2 separate regions of the Homo sapiens genome follow, and region 1 is linked to region 2. The links are contacts of gene promoters, found by promoter capture Hi-C in blood cells and fetal thymus (Javierre and others, 2016). All regions are on one chromosome and are shown on one strand. The core of a region is centred on a gene start or on the middle of the fragment in contact, and the rest is flanking DNA. Distances in the headings are between cores, read along the strand shown. Region 1 has its middle 140 kb from the start of XIST. Region 2 holds the start of CDX4 (caudal type homeobox 4).

Region 1 (5,223 bases), core at 266-2,765, 270 kb after region 2:
GAACTCCTAACCAATATGAAATTTTCTGACAAAAGCAGGAAAACTCCTGCACAAGGTAAGAGCTTTTGCCAGAACAATTGGAACAGCTGTTCCCAAACTCTCAAAGGCATTGTCCTCAACTAAAGGGAAGGAGGATGGGGCCTGAGAGGACTTACCAATGACCATATCAGCAATCCGAAGAGATGGAGAGCATAAGGAGCTCTTTCTTGTGGGTACGTCACCTGATTTCAGAAAACAGAGGTCCACTGGAAGGTAAAATCACTTAAGGTCTGACTTCTGTAATCCAGCTATGTTAACTAAAATATATATTGATACAAAATTCAGAGAAAATACCATTTATTTGAAAAACAAAGAATTGCAACCCAGGTACACAAAGTCAGGGCAACCCTGAATAACACACCCAGAGACAAGCACAGGAAAGCTTTATTTAAATGGGAATGATTTCCACACACACAAAAAAATGTTGTTTTCAGAGGCAGTTTACTGTCTGGGCAGAAATCCTAAATTGCAAACCCATTCTGATTGGTAAATTAGGGTATTCCCAGCTGAGATATGTTGAAAACTGGAGGATACTGACGTCTGTTGTTATCCAAATATATTGGAACATCCTGTGGCTTTATTTTTAACAGGTAGGTGTGCAATCCTCTCACAGTATCCTGACTCTAAAGCCGTAGCCTTAAGTATTTCATTTTCTTTCACACCCACACTAGTGAAGGTTTAATAAACTAAAATAGGATGTACATAACAGGGGCCAAATAGAAAGAGGAGTTAGTGAAAAATTACAAAGGCTTGGTACTTTCAGTTGTTGGGGAGATTTTTAGAGGCCTTTTTTCCTCCGGCTGATTATTTTTGGTGGCTAAGGAAAGAAAATTTCAAATAAATGAACCTTTAAACTGATACTCTTAACATCCATATTTGAAGGGAAAAACATCTGAGCCCCATTTTCCATGATATCTCTAATATTCATCTGACAATCTATAGGTGCTTAATGAGTAATCAATTATAACATGTTATAAAATCTTCAGTTTCATTTGTCTTTCTGTTTGGCTTTTGTCTCTAAGTCTTGACTTTTCTTCATCTCTGTCTAAACCTTCCATTTGCTCAAAGTGCTGAAAACAGTCAACAAATAAATTTGTGTGGGCAAGTGGGAATGATAACTCTACTGACTACCCCACTGAATTCACCTGATTCATGTTAGTGTTGGTTTGGCTTCTGAGACTAATGAGCTTTGTCATAATCCAGGCTCTAAGTAAGAATTAAGTCTCAATGGGTAGAAAGAATGCCTGGTTAAAAGACACCAGAATGCCACATACCACAAGATTAAGGAAAATGGATTGATGACTCATAGCATGCCCACACTGGTGCCAGAAGTTGTAATGAAGGGAAGAATTAGTCAAGACTAACCAAGAAGAATAGGGCAAGTGAAGGGATGTATGCTATTGGATCTGAATAAATCAGAGTGTTTCCCAAAGATTGTTCTTCATTTCCTCCTCAGACTAGTAATGGCTGACAGAGACAATTTATGTTCATGTTGTCTAGTTGTTTAACAGAAAAGATTGGCCATGGGACATGGCTTGATGACTTGGGCAATGATTTAGAATATGTGAAAATGAATAGTTCCTCAAGAAATGTCAGCAACTGGGCCTATAACACACAATCTACTTTAAAATCTCACTCTGTTTTCTAGGTATGCAATAGGTCTTTTCCACTTCTTAATTGGTTGAGCTACAACAGAATGTAAAGTAGAACTAAAGATAAGCATGAAAATAGATCATGGACCAAGGAGTAGGAAAAGAAAGAATACTTGGGTTTTGGAAGCTGCAGTGAGACTTTGCATCTGAGGTAGAGGAAAAGTGGTTTGTGGAAAAAGCACTGAACTTGGATTGTGTGGATTCAAATTCTGTCTCCACGTCTTACTAGCTTTGAGATTACTTAGTCTTTGATAAGTTTATGAAATGGGAAGAATATAATAATCTTTGTCTTGCAGGACTATTGTGAGGATCTAATTAAGTCATGGATGTGGAAGAGCTTTCGAAATTGTAAAGTGAAGGGGAAGGTATTGTTGTTGTCTGGGACATCTCCACGCATACTGGCTACAAGGGCACTGTGGAGAAAAAGGAGAAATCCTCTCCCTCAGGGGAGCTGTATCCAGTGAACTCCTACAGCTGTCAGCCTCTAATCAATCCTCTTGGGAAGTCCAAAGTTTGTGTGAAACCTCAGTGGCATGTAGTACTAAAGATTACTAACTAATTTACCTTTCCTTTTGGTTTTCTTCCTCCAAATGTAGGCTTTTAAAGGAAACTTGCTCTTTTATTCCCTTTAAATCTTTCCAACTGACCTCCAGAAAGCTGACATAATAGTTTTAAGCAGATTATGCCTTGCTGTCCTAATATCAGGCAGTATTATATTGGCATTGTTTACCAGTTTTGAGAATGTAGCCCAAACACTTTCATTCAGGCCTCTCCATGACAAGTAACATATTTGCGAGATTGCTACCTACAGTTGAGGGGTTAGCTTGTGATTCTAGAACAAGGGGAACATGTAAGATTTAAATGCAGTGGTTTGGCATTAGGAGCATGATGTTCTAACCAACTCTTTGAATTTAATTTTAAGCTTCCAGGAACCATATTATAGGATGACATAAAATGTTGGCTATAAATAAAGATCTTTGAGGTCATCTACTCCAAAAGAAACAAGAAAGCACAGTCCCAGAGTGGAGTCAGAGACTTGGTTTTAATGGCAGAGTTGGAACTGAAGCTAAAGTTGCCTTATTTTCGATGTAGTATTTCTTATTCTGTTTCCATTGAATTATTTTCACTTTAAGTACAGGACCACCTCCTTTCTCTATGCCTATTTCTGGACAAATTGTCACTGAATCAGGCAAATTATCCAAGAAGCATGTTGCCAACTGTTTGATAATTTAGAGATGTCAGATAGCTGTCAAAGAGTGGGCCTAAAAATTTAACTTTTCACAGGCTATATTTTTGTTTTCCCCTTTTTATTACATTTTCATCGAAAGCTGTGACTACCGTATTGTATCCATACCTTTTCTTACATTTTATAGTCTTTATCAAGTTTGGCTGTAGCATATGCATTCCAGTTGATATTAGAGTTTACATGAGTTCAGTTGCTTCCTCTGAAAAATAAAAAGGGGTGGAAAATAAATGGTATTTGGAAAAAATGACCTCAAAGATTCTAGCTTTAGCATTCTATGATTTTAGGATTTAAATATTTTTTCATTGTAGGGTTTTTGACAATTCCCAATTTTTCATTAATAAAAATATCAATCATTTTGTACAAATATTTTTTAATTTATTTATAAGTGTTTCCTTAGGCTACATTCCAAAAGTGAGATTGCTGGGTTAAAGAGCAAGCTGACTTTTTAATGACCTCTCAATGCATAATGCCAAACTGCTCTCTATAAAGATTTATACTGCCTAGTTATATCATTATAGCAGTTCATAATTGTTCCTGCTTCTTGACAACCTTTCCAACATTGGTTCCTTTATTATTATTTTATTTTTTATTTGTCCAGACTTAACAGATACAAGTGTAGTGTTTTTACATGGATATATCGTGTAGTGGTGGAGTCTAAACTTCTAGGGTAGGCATCACCTGAATAATGAACATTGTACCCATTAAGTAATTTCTCATCCCCCTCCCCCTCCCACACTCCCACCATTTCAAGTCTCCAGTGTTTATTAATTTACATTCTATGTCCCTGTGATCACACTACTTAGCCCCTTCTTTTATAAGTGAGAACATGTGGTATTTGATTTTGTTTCTGAGTTGTTACACTTAAGATAATGGCCTCCAGTTCCATTCATGTTGCTCCAAAAGACATGATTTTATTATTTTTTATGGCTGAATAGTATTCCACTCTGTGTGTGTGTATATATATATATATATATATATATATCATTTACTTTATCCAATAATCAGTTGACAAGCAGGTTGATTCCATATCTTTGTTATAGTGAAGAGTACTGTGATAAACATATGAGTGCAGGTAGCTTTTTTATATAATGATTACCTCTGGGTAGATACCCAGTAGTAGAATTGCTGGATCGAATAGTAGTTCTAGTTTTAGTTCTTTGAGAAATCTCCATGCTGTTCTCCATAGAGGCTGTAGTAATTTACATTCCCACCAACAGTGTATAAGTGTTCTCTTTTTGCTGCATCCTCACCAACATGTTATTTTTTAACTTTTTGGTAATAGGCATCCTAACTGATGTAAAATTGCTGGGTCTGACCCACAGACCCTGGCCGAACGATGGATGAACAAATGCACTCCAACACAGATATCCAGTGAAAGAGTGGGCTAGGGGACCAGGCCGCTCACAGAAAGAGTTGTAGCAGCCGTGGCCCTGACAAGCTGGCACTGTGGGCATTTATTTAGTACAGATTTAATGACAAAGGCCTTGAGTTAACACACTTGTGGGTAATTAACATGGTTGCCCCCCCCCACCACCTCCCAAGACAGCAGTCCTGTGTGCAAATGATTAAAGGCCAGGTTCTGAGGCCTAAGTAAACTAACTTTTCTAGATCAGTTTCTTTACATCCCCTTGTTATCCAACCTAATCTTTCAGGCACTGGATAAGAGAATTTGGCTGCCCTTAGCTATATCCTTTTCCAAAGCTCTTGTAAAACCACCCAGCCTTTGAAGAAGGTTTGCATCTTTCTACAACTTTTCCCACCACCCTGACCAATCTCCTACATAAAATGATATCTCATTGTGGTTTAAATTTGCATTTCTCTGATTAGCAATGTTGAACATTTTTTTCATATGCTTATTGGCCATTTGCATGTCTTTTGAGAAATGTCTGTTCATGTTCTTTGCCCACTTTTTAATGGGCTTATTGGGTTTGTGGTTGTTGTTGAGTTCTTTGTAAATCCTGAATATTAGTCCCAATTAATATTTTGAACTAATGGTTCAAAAATATTTTTTCCCATTCTGTAGGTTGTATGTTCACTCTGATTATTTCTTTTGCTGTGCAGAAGTTTTTTAGTTTACTTAAATCCCATTTGTCTATTTTTGGTTTTGTTGCTTGTGCTTTTGAGATCTTAATCATGAATTATTTGCCTAGACCAATGTCCAAGAGAACTTTCCCTAGGTTTTCTTCAAGTATTTTTATTGTTTGAGGTTGTATTAGTCCATTTTCATGCTGCTAATAAAGACATACCTGAGACTGGGAAGAAAAGGAGGTTTATTTTGACTTACAG
Region 2 (5,408 bases), core at 571-3,070:
TTGCAATAGTCTTTTTTTTAAATCTGCCTGATTCTGTCTACTTACAGTCTATTTTTGATCCAATGGCCAGAGAGAGCCACTCAAAATTTAACTCAAATCATGTCACTCCTCTGCTCTAAACCCTACAATGTCTCCCTATCTCAAAGCAAAAACTAGAATTTTTGCAATGGCCTATTTCCCTTCAGCTTTTAGACCTCATCTAGTCTTTAGCTACACTGTCTTCCTTGCACTTTCTCCAACAGAAAATGAACATTCTGTTTTCACTTGTTTCTTTCTTCTGAATCCTCTGTCCTCTTACCTCACTCCATTAACTCTTTCATATTTTAGTTAAATGTCAATTATCTGTGAAGTCATCCTAGACTATCACATTTAAAATTGTGACGTCCACCTCCCAGCATTCCGTATATTCCTTCCCTGCTTTTTTTTTTCTCCATAGAGTTGATTACTGTCTGATATACCATAAAATTTAATTACTTATCAGTGTTTCTCCCCACTATGATATATGCTTAATAAAGCCGGAGGCTTTATCTGCTCACCACTGATGTCTCCATACATAGAACAGCACTAAGTACTCAATAAATATTTGCTGAGTGAATACAGTGGTCCCATACTGTGTGCCAAGCACTAAGTTAAGCAGTTTGCTTGCATTATCTGAGGAAATCCTGCTTGTAAGGTAGATACCATTAGGTTCTCTATTTTTAAAAGGGAAAACCCGTGAAACTCAGAGAGGTTAAGTGACTTTCCCAAAGCCATAGATGGATTAGCTAAAAGGGGGTGGGGGTGCCAGGTTATGTTGGATTTTGTGTAGGAGCACATTTCCTGAGTAGGAAGCAGCCTGGAGTAAAGGCTGTGGTAGGTCTTGGGGGTGCTGGGTGGAGAGGAGGAACACAAGAGGAGACCTGGTTTCTTGAGGCAAGATACTGATTTCATTGGCATCTACTAGCAAGTCTATGTCTTTTTCAACAATTGGAGTTTTACAAAGAAAACTTTTTTAGTTTGCTGCAGCTGCCATGGATTTGAGACTGCAAGAGTTCTGGCCCCTTGAGGCACTGGATTTCAGACAGAAGCCATACCTGGCAGAAGGAGACACCTGAGAGTAGTGGATTGACATGAAAATAGGAAAGTTTATTATCCACATGGTTCTCTCTCTCTCCTACCATTTTGCATAACCTACGTTACTCATCTTTCTTTAATTTGTGCATATTTGTAAACAACGTTCTATTAATTCAGCCTGCCATCCACTACAGTGTAATCTTAGGAAGGCAGAGCAAGAATTTTTGTCTTTTATTCACTGCTGTATCCCCATGCCTACACAGTACCTGGCACACAGTAGACGCTCAACAGAGAGTTGTGAAATGAATCTTTGCCCTTGGAAACAAAGGCGTCCTCTTGATGGAGGGAGTAAGGAGAGTAAGGGAAAGCTCTTTTCATTGGCATCCTGGGCCAGTGCCATGCAGTAAACCCCTGCGAGGGAATTGGGCAGAAGGAGACTGCAGATGCAGGTTGGACGCGGGAAGATCGGTGAAAGGGAGGAGGCCGCGGTGTAAGGACTGAATCCTAGAGAGCGGAACTTTGCCCGGTTTCTGCAGGTCTCTATCTGACTTTGAGGGGAGCTGGTCAGAAATCCCTGGAGGAGTTCCTGTCCCCAAAAGCACAATACTGACGCTATGGGGACCAGATGGACAGAATCAAGAAAGATGAGACAGAAAGGCCTGGGAGCTTGGGGAGTGGGTGAACAAGTTCCTGTGAAAGTGAAATGGCCCTTCATTTGAATGCAAATGCTATGTAAAAGCCTGAAGCCCCTTGACGTCAGCCCAGCCATTGGTGGCCTATCTATACAGGGCTGCTAGTCACCTGGATACCCTCGTAAGAAACGTGGGATGGAGTAGCCTGAGGGGTGCAAAAGAGCTTGCGGCACAACTACGTACTGATAAGTTTATTCTCTGCTGCTTCTCAAAGTCGAGTTGGGGCCTTACAGGGACTTCAGGATGGCTTAGGGAGCGCCTTCTACCCAAGACACGATGTACGGAAGCTGTCTTTTGGAGAAAGAAGCAGGCATGTACCCGGGCACTCTCATGAGCCCTGGGGGCGACGGCACAGCTGGGACAGGCGGCACAGGGGGCGGTGGGAGTCCGATGCCAGCCTCCAATTTCGCTGCGGCACCGGCTTTCTCGCACTATATGGGGTATCCTCATATGCCCAGCATGGATCCTCACTGGCCGTCTCTGGGAGTCTGGGGCTCACCCTACAGTCCCCCGCGAGAAGACTGGAGCGTGTATCCTGGGCCGTCTAGTACAATGGGCACAGTGCCGGTGAACGACGTGACCTCTAGCCCCGCCGCTTTCTGCTCGACCGACTACAGCAACTTGGGCCCTGTGGGCGGTGGAACTAGCGGCAGCAGCCTACCAGGCCAGGCTGGCGGGTCGCTTGTCCCGACGGACGCAGGCGCCGCCAAGGCCAGTTCCCCCAGCAGGAGCCGCCACAGCCCCTATGCATGGATGCGCAAGACGGTGCAGGTGACGGGTGAGTAATCAATTCCAATGCCCACACACTTTTCCTTCCTTCCCTTCTCCGCTACTTCTCTTGGTCGGCCTGCCCTCGTACTTCTCAGGCCTCTCCCAAGAGGGCTTAGCTGAGGCGACCCCTATATGGCTGGCTGGCCTATTAGGCATCTCCCTCGCATTCGCCTGGGCTCAAAACTCACTCACTGAGTGCAGCGATTGGGACTAAACCTACCCTAGAGGTGATTTTCGCCTTTCGCTGCTCCATGAAGAAAGCGAGTGAGTGGACAATGGGTATGTTAAGCCACAAGGATCAGGATGCAACCCTGTAGTTGCCCACATGGGAAAAGAGATGCATGAGAAAGCTCAACGGGTGAATGAAGCGAGAGGGCAGCTGTAGTGTCCCGTTGTTCAGGCACTGCTGCTTGACTGTTCCATTTCCAAACCCTTACCCATCTGAGCGGGCTGTCTCCCCCCTCCCCGCCCCCAAAGCTGGTGATGCTCAATTTAGGTTCACAGTGCTTGGCTGGCAACGGACCCTCCAGTTTAGCCACTAAGTCCCCGACGGCAAAGCAACCTCTTCACCCTGGCCTCTCAGGGAAGCTCCAGCTTCCTTCCTACAAGTTGGCAGAGGCAAATTGGCCTAAAATCCATTGCCATCTTACAACGTCCTTTCTTCTAACCCAAGTGTTGAGGCAGGCGAGAAGGCTACAGCACTGACCTGGTACATAATACGGTACCTAACCCTCACACCCGCCCGACACGCAAACGAATCAGCTCCAGCACTAATAAATGGCTAAAGCCCTCATAACTATCAAAGCAGGCGTCTCTCAGGCGTGGGGGCTGAATGCAGGTCTGCGGCAGCGCGAGAGAAGTCAAAGCGATCGCGATCACAGCCTAACCAGCAAGCCAGTGGGCGACTGCTGGGAGCCAGGGCGAGGGAAGTGGCCGTTCCACTTTAATCTTAACCGGGGCTGGGGGAGGAATGTTTGTTTTCAACTGTTGTTCTTTTATTACATTCTTATTATTCCAACCCTCGCTCCCTGTCATTAGAGAAAATTAGTAAAAATCGACTCTGAGTATTTTCATCCCTCTGGGGAGGAAATGGCATTTCAATAGCATTTGTCCGCAATGATTATGCTCCTGTTCTCAGTTCTGCACTTTGTCTTTCCTCCAAAAAGCAAAGACAGGAGGGTGGGAAGTGACCCATTTTTACCATTAGGAGAACTTTTAGCCAGGAAGAGGAAGTTCTGTGTATTAGAACCTCACTAGAGTAGCGATCCCAAGGTAAAAGTAGAGTTGAAATACTTGGCTTTAAAGCGTTTGCAAGTAAATCTGCATTTTAAAAAAATATGAGTGAGTCTGTCGACTAAGTAGAATAGAAAAAGAGGTTAGGGTGGGGCACTCCCAGAGTTTTTATTACATCTAATCTCGGGGTTGTAATTAACATCCACTCACTAAACCCTAACAATCAGCAAAAGACACAAAAGCTAGAAAAGTAGTTGCTCGCAGTCTAGGATTATGTTTTGAAACACATTAAGAGGAAAGTCACTGGCGTGCTGTTTGCAATAGAGAACAAGAGAGGAAATGGATGAGATAAAAGAAATTATCTCCAGCCTTGAATTTTCTATTTATGAGGAAAAATATGACAGTTTTATCTGCTTAAAGGTCTTCCGTTTACATTTGCTTTTATTAGCCTGAGTCTCTCTCTTGGGCAATTCTAATGCCAGGAAAGGTTTCGAAACGGGCTCCTTAGTCTCTTGCATCTTTGAGCTAAACCCTCAAACCTGACTTTACAATGGCACCGTCACAAGATTTTCTATCCAATTTCTATGAGAAGTTTAAAATGGAATGATATTGGAACCATTTCGATTTTTGGCAGCCTATTCTATAGATGAGGCTTCATTAAATTAAAACTTCGTTTCATTTTAATGTCTTATAAATGAAAATAACCCTTTTGCTGTATTCTTATAGTCTAAGGTGCATATTTAGCAGCAATTTAAGAATATGATGAAAAACTTTGGTTATCTCCCTAGAAAAAATGCACAAAGGCACAGCAGCACACACACAAACACAAGTAATTTGTTACATAATTTTAGGAGATTCATGGATCCATTGAAGCCCTTTCAAGGGACATCAGGTTATAAACCCCACGAAAAAAATTAAGCTGATCACCTCACTAGGCCACCCACTCAGGACCAAAATGCACCCATTTATATGCTTAGTACATAGTGGGTCTTAAATATTTGTTTAATGAATGAATGAGTCAGATCCTCCTAAATTTTCCACTTCACTCTGTAGTACTGTGGGATAACATATGGTTTATGACTGAGAGGAAAAGATGAACTTCAATATGGAAGTAACCCTTGATTAAGGTAGTCAGATGAAAGTTCTTTCCATTACTGAAAAATGTCTTAAATAAATGTAAAAAAGGAAAAAATGCATGTATTAGTGGACAATCAGAAAACATTTCATAGCGACCATTATAGCATGTTATTTTCTAATGAGAGCAAGGAGGCTGACAGATAGAGTAAATGACTGTTCCCTAAGTGACCTGATTTAAAAAGAAGGCATGTTTATTTCCACTTAGTTCTCTAAGTGGTCTATTTCTATACATATCTAACTTTAAATATTATGCAAAAAGGAATATGACAGAAAAGTTTCTATGGAAAATTTAATATTTTCATGCACTTTCACATTTTAAACATTGGCAAGGTGATAACCTAAGCAGGCTGGAGAGAGGCTTTTCTGTTAGAAGTGGAAAAGAGGGGGAGAGCAGGAAGTAATTGTGATTGATTCTGATTCTGATTGATTGTTTTAAGCCACTGGACAACATGAAGGAATTTATGCTTGAAAGGCATTATTCAATAAGGACACTTCATAAAATTAGTTGCTTAATAATTCTTG

What was found. The method cuts DNA at HindIII sites, captures the fragments that hold promoters and counts their contacts. A CHiCAGO score of 5 or more calls a contact.
Region 1: a fragment that was not itself captured here is called in contact with the fragment with the promoter of CDX4 in region 2 in 1 of 17 cell types (non-activated CD4 T cells); the score reaches 5.1 in non-activated CD4 T cells.

Annotation. Positions count from the first base shown.
Region 1 is chrX:73,711,940-73,717,162 of GRCh38, forward strand. No RefSeq gene overlaps it. Among named protein-coding and RNA genes, the nearest start is that of XIST, 140 kb to the right of the region's middle. The HindIII fragment of the contact is 2,192 bases long and covers 420-2,611 here.
Region 2 is chrX:73,445,233-73,450,640 of GRCh38, forward strand. It overlaps CDX4 (caudal type homeobox 4), which reads left to right and starts at 1,821. Exons shown (of 3, transcript NM_005193.2): 1 at 1,821-2,523. The coding sequence starts at 2,022. RefSeq lists enhancers at 1,515-2,180, 2,181-2,845. The HindIII fragment of the contact is 9,419 bases long and covers 1-5,408 here.